2 separate regions of the Homo sapiens genome follow, and region 2 is linked to region 1. Evidence: promoter capture Hi-C in human tissues and cell types (Jung and others, 2019). All regions are on one chromosome and are shown on one strand. The core of a region is centred on a gene start or on the middle of the fragment in contact, and the rest is flanking DNA. Distances in the headings are between cores, read along the strand shown. Region 1 holds the start of ZNF717 (zinc finger protein 717). Region 2 has its middle 270 kb from the start of ZNF717.

The links. The method cuts DNA at HindIII sites, captures the fragments that hold promoters and counts their contacts. A contact is called where the count stands out against the background at its distance.
Region 2: a contact is called between a fragment that was not itself captured here and the fragment with the promoter of ZNF717 in region 1, in 1 of the 25 tissues and cell types used here (thymus).

What each region holds. Positions count from the first base shown.
Region 1 is chr3:75,784,202-75,788,505 of GRCh38, forward strand. ZNF717 (zinc finger protein 717) reads right to left here and starts at 1,348. Exons shown (of 5, transcript NM_001290208.3): 1 at 1,183-1,348. RefSeq lists an enhancer at 1,461-1,610. The HindIII fragment of the contact is 7,615 bases long and covers 1-3,006 here.
Region 2 is chr3:76,056,120-76,060,098 of GRCh38, forward strand. It overlaps a transcript of ROBO2 not described here. Among named protein-coding and RNA genes, the nearest start is that of ZNF717, 270 kb to the left of the region's middle. The HindIII fragment of the contact is 5,119 bases long and covers 1-3,979 here.

The DNA.
Region 1 (4,304 bases), core at 98-2,597:
TGTGATCCAGGCAACATAAATATATCAACTACCCAGCTGAACCCACCACACCAAAATGCAGATCCACAGAACTTCAAACAAATAAAATGGTGGTTGTTTTTTATAAGCCAGTAAGGTTTAATTAGTTCCTTAAACAGCAAGTATTAACTGTTACACCTAAGTGAACAGAATTCAATATGTTTTTAACAAAATTACGTAGGGGGAGAAAGTCTTAAATTACAAATCAAATACAATCGATAGAACTTCACAATCTAATGCTAAAGCTAAATTTGGTGATGGACTAGGTTTAATATATCTCAAACGCTGGAAACAACGAGGAAAGGTTGAAGGAATGGGACTGTGTTTGGAGAGTATTTTAATCTTCTCAGGTATGACAGGTCACTCCTGTACCCCAGACCACACTTTCAGGCCCCTTCAAATAAGGAATATTTCCTAGGTCCTTGCCTGTTCTTCTCAGCCGAATTCACCTCAACCTTCTGAAAGTTCGTCCAAACCTACCACTGTCACCTAGTCTTTGCAAATCTTGTGCATTCTAGGGAGTAGAATTAATATTTCCCGAGCGAGGAAAACTGGGATCTTCACCTGTGACCTTTTATCCTCCTCTGAAGCACCAGTGGGAGGTTAGACCAGAGGGCTGTTCTTTCAAGTGCGCTTCTTATTCATAGGGAACCCTCCCTTTCAAACCTTATAACACACGGTTAAGACTGAAGTACCCTTAAGGCTGAAGACCATCATCCAGTACCCCATCTCCCTCGCGGCATCAGTGAGTTCTTCCCTGGAAACTAGGTCTCGTATAAACTTCTGTAAACGCAACCCAGGAGGACTAGGCAGGTCACACAGTGAAGGAGGGAACCAGAAACTTCACTTGCTAAAGAGACACCGGGAAACCCAACTAATACAAACGCCCAGTTTAAGACTCGAGGCGCACGCGTTTCGCACTACTCCTCTGGGAATGGGGAACGTCTCCCGAGAACTGTGTGTTCGCACTGGGACAGATGGGCAAACTGAGCGTCATGCGGGTTGGTAACCGGCTCCCTCAGCGGCAGGACAGGAGCGCGGCCTGCAGACTCCGGGCCCAGGGCCACCGGCCTCGCCTACCCGCTCCTGCGCCTCTAGAACCCGCTTCACTGCCGGGACCCCACGCCTGTCCTCCCAGCCCCCGCCAGGGTCCGCGGCCTGCACCTGCACTTCAGGCCCTGCCCGCCCGCGATGCGCCCACGCGTCTGCTCCCACAACTGGGGAACACTGGTCCGGCCCCCCGGGATCCCCCGGGCCCACGGGTTCCTCTTCGCCCTCGCACCGACCCGCAGGGACATAGAACCAAGCCCCAGGCTGGCCCAGCTACAAGACCGCCTCTGGGTGCCGCACTTCCGGAGGAAAATGGCGGAGTGGGCGGGGCGGCGCATGCGCAGAGAGAAAAGCTGGTTCCCAAGGTCCTTGATGGTAACATCATTGGAAGGTGACACTACATTTCCCATGAGGCTCTGCGGTCCCCGGTTAGGAACCCAAGCCGGACATTCTGTTTTGCCCAGCAGTGAGTCCAGTTACCCAGAGACCCGGACTTAATGGATCAGGACTGGTCCCTACCCAGGTGACACAGATGTGGCATTCTGGTTCTTTATTAAATCCTGGTTTCACAGCCTGGCACATTGTGAAAATAATGGAGAAATTTCAATAGAGGCCAATTGGTCTATGCTATTAATGAGTAACTTTTTTTTTTTTTTTTTTTTTGAGACGGAGTCTCACTCTGTCACCCAGGCTGGAGAGCAATGGTGCGATCTCGGCTCACTGCAACCTCCGCTTCCCGGGTTCAAGCGATTCTCCTGCCTCAGCCTCCTGAGTAGCTGGGATTACAGGTGCGCGCCACCACACTCACCTAATTTTTGTATTTTTAGTAGAGACGGGGTTTCACCATGTTGGTCAGGCTGGTCTCGAACTCTTGACCTCGTGATCCGCCCTCCTCGGCCTCCCAAAGTGCTGGGATTACAGGCGTGAGCCACTGCGCCCAGCCCTCAAGTCTATTTTTTATAAATGCATTCGAAAGCATGAAAAAAATCATGTCTCTATTTTACTTTAAAATTTTAAAAACACAACTAATGAATATGGTAATTCTCTTCCAATCCGTTATCTTTTCTCTCACTAAACTAATTTATAAGCCTTCAATTTACACAGTTACAAAAAATGCTCTAGTGCATATACTGGGATAAAATAACAGGGTCATAAGACAGGTGCACTCCATAATCTTTGTGACAACTTACACTTCCAGTGTCTGATAAATATTTGCCCATAAACTCCCACGTTTCATCCATCCACCAATCAATCAAATCTAGCTATCTTTATTTATTTATTGTGAGAAAGACCTGAACTTTGCCTTTCCTTCCCTGATTTCTGCCACAAACTAGGCAAGGATTTCTGCCTAGGGGTTTCTCAGAGCTCCGGCCACCACCGAGGTTCCTAACAGGGAAACGCAAGCTTGAATGCTCAGGGTTGATGTGGGAGTGCGTGTGAAACGGGGTTGGGGTGAAAGGGCAGTGAAGTTTGTAGGTGGGCAGATGAGGGTGTGAAGGGCTTTCAGGTAAGAGGCACGCAGGAGACTGGGAGAGGCAGCGAAAGCACCTCACGCCTCAGATCACCAGAAGACGCTTCCACCAGTGCCGTGACAGTTTGCCAATGCCACGGCAGCACGGGAAGTCCCCACCCCTTGCCATGGAAACAGCTGGAAGTTACTGCCCATTTCTAGCTATTTCTGAATAACCCGCCCCTTAATTAGCATGCCATTAAAAGTGAATTATAAAAATGACTGCAAGCCACCCCCAGGCTGCTACTCTGGGAGCACAACCCACGGAGGGCTCCCTGCCCTGCAGGAGTGGACGCAGGGCTGTAACACCGCCAGTGCCTCCGTAGAGCTGCTTTCTTCCACCACAGGCTTGCTTTTGGATTCCTTCCTGAGCGACGCCAAGAACCTGCCCTTCCTCAGTGTGACTCTTGCCTAAAACCTATCCCTGGTTTTCTCTTTTCCTAAGCATGCCCTGACTTGTTCTTTCATCTCCTCGGATCTTGCAATTGCTCCTCAGTGACTCTATTCTGCAGATCCAGAAAACTCAACCTTAATCTTCCCAGAGCCCTGTTGTCTCCAATATCGGAATCTCTAGCCTTGCTTTCTCAGACGCCTAGATTACAGGCCTCTCTCTTGAACACCTATTGGTATGGTATCTGGGGATCCTTTAAATACACGATGATTGGCAGGGGTTACATAGCGGAAATCAGTGCCTGACAATTTGCCTTCCAGGATATGGACTGTCATTCCCTCTCTTGGTGGGCCTCAGTCTCTTATCCATAAAAGTAGAGATTGTAATACTCATTTGAATTGCAGATACCTCAACCTGAACCCACCTAATATAACGTAAAAGCCAAGACTGCAACCCCTTTCCTCACCACGTGAAGGTGAAGTCCTCAGAGCCAAGGAGAGAAGGCTCAGGGATGATACCTGGGTGTCTCCGACGCTAACCATGTATTGCAGTTTTTAGTGTTCAAGTTTAAGCTTCCCCAGCTTTAATTCTATTGTAACAAGATTTATTTTTGTAATTCCATTTTTGGATTCTTGATTTCTTGGTAAAGAAATACAGTTATTTTTGTATATCAATCTTATATAGTGTTACATTCTTAAATTTGTTCATGAGTCCTAATACTTTTTAGTAAATTTCTTACGATTTTCTAAATGCAAGATCATGTCATCTGTACATAAAGATAACTGTACTTCTTCCTTTCCAATCTAGATGCCGTTTATTTATTTACGTTGCCAAGTTGTCCCAGCTACCACTGTTATCAAGTAAAAGGGTCTCACTGCCCAAAGCACTAGAAGCCGGTACCACGACACTGAGTTTTCGAGAAAAGAAAAAGTTTAAAGTCAAACCAAAACCTATGGGGTACAGGCCGGGCGCAGTGGCTCATGCCTGTAATCCCAGCACTTTGGGAGGCTGAGGCGGGCGGATCGCGAGGTCAGGAGATCGAGACCATCCTGGCTAACAGAGTGAAACCCCGTCTCTACTAAAAATACAAAAAACAAAAATTAACCGTGCGTGATGGCGGGCGCCTTTGGTCCCAGCTACTCAGGAGGCTGAGGCGGGAGAATGGCGTGAACCCGGGAGGCGGAGCTTGCAGTGAGCCGAGATCGCGTCACTGCACTCCAGCCTGGGAAACAGAGCGATACTCCGTCTCAAAAAAAAAAAAAAAAAACCTATGGGATACAGTAAAAACACTACTACAGTACTAAGAGGTAAATTTATAGCAAAAAGCACCTGCAT
Region 2 (3,979 bases), core at 369-2,868, 270 kb after region 1:
AGTATAACAACTACATAGCATTCACATTGTATTAAGTATTATAACAACTCTGTAGATAATTTAAAGTATACGGGAGGATGCGCATAGACTATATACACATATGACACCATTTTATGTAAAGGACTTGAGTATCTGCAGATTCTGAGGAGGGTCCTAGAACCAGTGCCCCACAGGTACCAAGGGATGACTGTATTCAGACTGAAACAAAATATTCTTAAACAGAAATCATTAGCCCATAGAATATAGTTCTAATACTAACCCTGCTTATAAAACCTTTAAATTGCGTGATATTTTCTTTAAAAAATGGTGCGTTTTTAAAAGGCATGATCATGATGGTTGTATTTAATTTTAACTACATGTTCTAAAAGGGTCTCCAAAATAAAATTGAAGAAAAAAAACCCATTCACTTTTAAAATACTGAAGTTTTGTTGCCTGTTTATAGAGGAGTTTACAAAAAAAGAAAAAGAAAAGAAAAAGGTTCTTACATGTATCACTACACTGAAGCAATTGCCTTCAGAATACTTAGCATACACTTAAATTTGAGTCTTGTAACATTCTGAGGAACATTTATGATGGGAGGGTTGCAGATGTTTATGGTAATTTAAGGAGGTACAAATCTTAAACATACATCAGTAGATTATGAATTCACAAGTGGTGATTGGTAGCACTTTATAATCTGCAAATTGGTTTGCTAAAGTCTACCCTATAATAGAGGAAAGTGTAATGTCAGATGTAGTAAATTGCAATTTTTGGACATATGTTAATAGTATGCAGTTTCAATCCCTCATTAAAACAAAACAAAACAGCTAAAAGTTATGGTCCTTTTAAAAAAATGATTATGTTGTGTATGCCTGTGTGTGTATTTAAACTATGTTATTTACCTGAATATTCTGTCTACTTAACTTTGGATTTCCTCAAATTTTCTAAAGACCAGTTAGAAACAAAATGAGATCTTAAAATATTTTATCATGAGGATGTGGATTCCCTTCCTGTGTGTGTAATATTTTAACTTACTGTTATCTCTCACCTTCTAAGACCTTTTATTTATACGTGCTTCAATCTGATACTAGGCGTATGCGGGCTTATTCAAATATGTGCCACCCACAGCCTGCAGTGCCTGGGACATTGCTGGAGTTCCTTAAAGTCATTTAGACTCTCCATCCTTGGGTTTATACAACACGTTTGTTCCTTCAGTAATTCAATAAGTATGATCCTCAGTACCTCAGGAGGAACAAAGCTTCTTATGCTTAGAGATGTTAACATTTAGAATCTTCGGAAGGTTAGAAATACTTTAAAGGAGACAAGCATTCTCCTTAAAATGCTAGAATATTTCTATATTTACTTTATAAACATGTTCATGGTTGATAAATAAGTCAGTTTTGGGTCACAAAAAGGGGTTGTGCTGCACACTTCTGCATTCGGAATTATCCCCAACATAGTAAGCTTCCAGGGTGACATGTAGATGGAACTTTTTTAGAAATATATCAGTTTCTTGGGAAAGTGTTGTGGAGTAGAACAGATTTATAGAGCTGGAACCGTATTATACAGAGCTGTAGATCACTGCCGCCGACCAACAAGACCAGATTTTTTTTTCCTTTTTGCAAATATTCACCAAATGTCCTTTGTCTTATCTTTCCTTGTTGAAGTAACAATTCAATTGGTTTTTTTTTGTCTGAAAAATCAGACCATTCCCTGTTCTAAATCATTTTTCTTGATTTTTGTTCCTAATCTCATACCATAAACAAATGTTTTTGTTTAGCTGTGTTTGTCAGGAATGACAGATTTAACAGCAAAGCATAAATGTAGATAGGTAGTTAAAAATACAGTACAATAAATCACTGCCTTTACCGTGTGTTTGTGAAGGGTTATGATTATAAATGGAACATGAGTGAGGTAGAAAAAGAAATCCAATAATGTTATTTTAGGAGGATAGTGTTATAAGGTTCAGAATTGTACTCATTATAAAGAGCTTTTTGTTTTTTTTTTCCTTTTCTTAAACTATACTTTCAGTTCTGGGACACATGTGCAGAATGTGCAGGTTTGTTACGTAGGTATACACATGCCATGATGGTTTGCTGCACCCATCATCCTGTCACCTACATTAGGTATTGCTCCTAATACTGTCCCTCCCATAACCCCCTACCCTCCAACAGGCCCCAGTGTGTGATGTTCCCCTCCCTGTGTCCATGTGTTCTCATTGTTCAACTCCCACTTAGGAGTGAGAACATGCGGTGTTTGGTTTTCTGTAAAGAACATTTTTAAAAGGAAAACAGATACTATAGTTATTACTACTGAATGTTTTTAAAAGTTCTAATAAGTTCATATTTTAAATGTAATATTGCCTTTTGCATGAAGCACCTAGTGTATAGTTATAAAACTCATTGCGACCTAATTGATGAAATAGGTAGAGTGACGATTTCCACTTGATGAACGTTGCACATGAACTATCACACGTCGAAACAGCAGAAACTTTTTTTTTTTTTTTTTTTTTTTTTGCTATTTGGTATGCAAGATTGTTTCCTTGCCTTTTTTTTTAATTATTATTATACTTAAAGTTCTAGGATACATGTGCACAACGTGCAGGTTTGTTACATATGTATACATGTGCCATGCTGGTGTGCTGCACCCATTAACTCGTTGTTTGGCATTAGGTATATCTCCTAATGCTATCCCTCCCCCCTCCCCCCACCCCACAACAGGCCCCAGTGTGTGATGTTCCCCTTCCTGTGTCCATGTGTTCTCATTGTTCAATTCCCACCTATGAGTGAGAACATGTGGTGTTTGGTTTTTTGTCTTTGCGATAGTTTGCTGAGAATGATGGTTTCCAGCTTCACCCATGTCCCTACAAAGGACATGAACTCATCATTTTTTATGGCTGCATAGTATTCCATGGTGTATATGTGCCACATTTTCTTAATCCAGTCTATCATTGTTGGACATTTGGGTTGGTTCCAAGTCTTTGCTATTGTGAATAGTGCCGCAATAAACATACGTGTGCATGTGTCTTTATGGCAGCATGATTTATAATCCTTTGGGTATATACCCAGTAATGGGATGGCTGGGTCAAATGGTATTTCTAGTTCTAGATCCCTGAGGAATCGCCACACTGACTTCCACAATGGTTGAACTAGTTTACAGTCCCACCAACAGTGTAAAAGTGTTCCTATTTCTCCACATCCTCTCCAGCACCTGTTGTTTCCTGACTTTTGAATGATTGCCATTCTAACTGGTGTGAGATGGTATCTCATTGTGGTTTTGATTTGCATTTCTCTGATGACCAGTGATGATGAGCATTTTTTCATGTGTTTTCTGGCTGCATAAATGTCTTCTTTTGAGAAGTGTCTATTCATATACTTTGCCCACTTTTTGTTGGGGTTGTTTGTTTTTTTCTTGTAAATTTTTTGGAGTTTATTGTAGATTCTGGATATTAGCCCTTTGTCAGATGAGTAGGTAGCAAAAATTTTCTCCCATTCTGTAAGTTGCCTGTTCACTCTGATGGTAGTTTCTTTTGCTGGGCAGAAGCTCTTTAGTTTAATTAGATCCTATCTGTCAATTTTGGCTTTTGTTGCCATTGCTTTTGGTGTTTTAGACATGAAGTCCTTGCCCATGCCTATGTCCTGAATGGTATTGCCTAGGTTTTCTTCTAGGGTTTTTATGGTTTTAGGTCTAATATGTAAGTCTTTATCCATCTTGAATTAATTTTTGTATAAGGTGTGAGGAAAGGATCCAGTTTCAGCTTTCTACATATGGCTAGCCAGTTTTCCTAGCACCATTTATTAAATAGGGAATCCTTTCCCCATTTCTTGTTTTTGTCAGGTTTGTCAAAGATCAGATGGTTGTAGATGTGTGATGTTATTTGTGAGGGCTCTGTTCTGTTCCATTGGTCTATATCTCTGTTTTGGTACCAGAGAAACTCTTTTATATATTTTTAAGACATTATCATATCAAGGTACTTTGGTGTGATTTCCAACAGAATCAG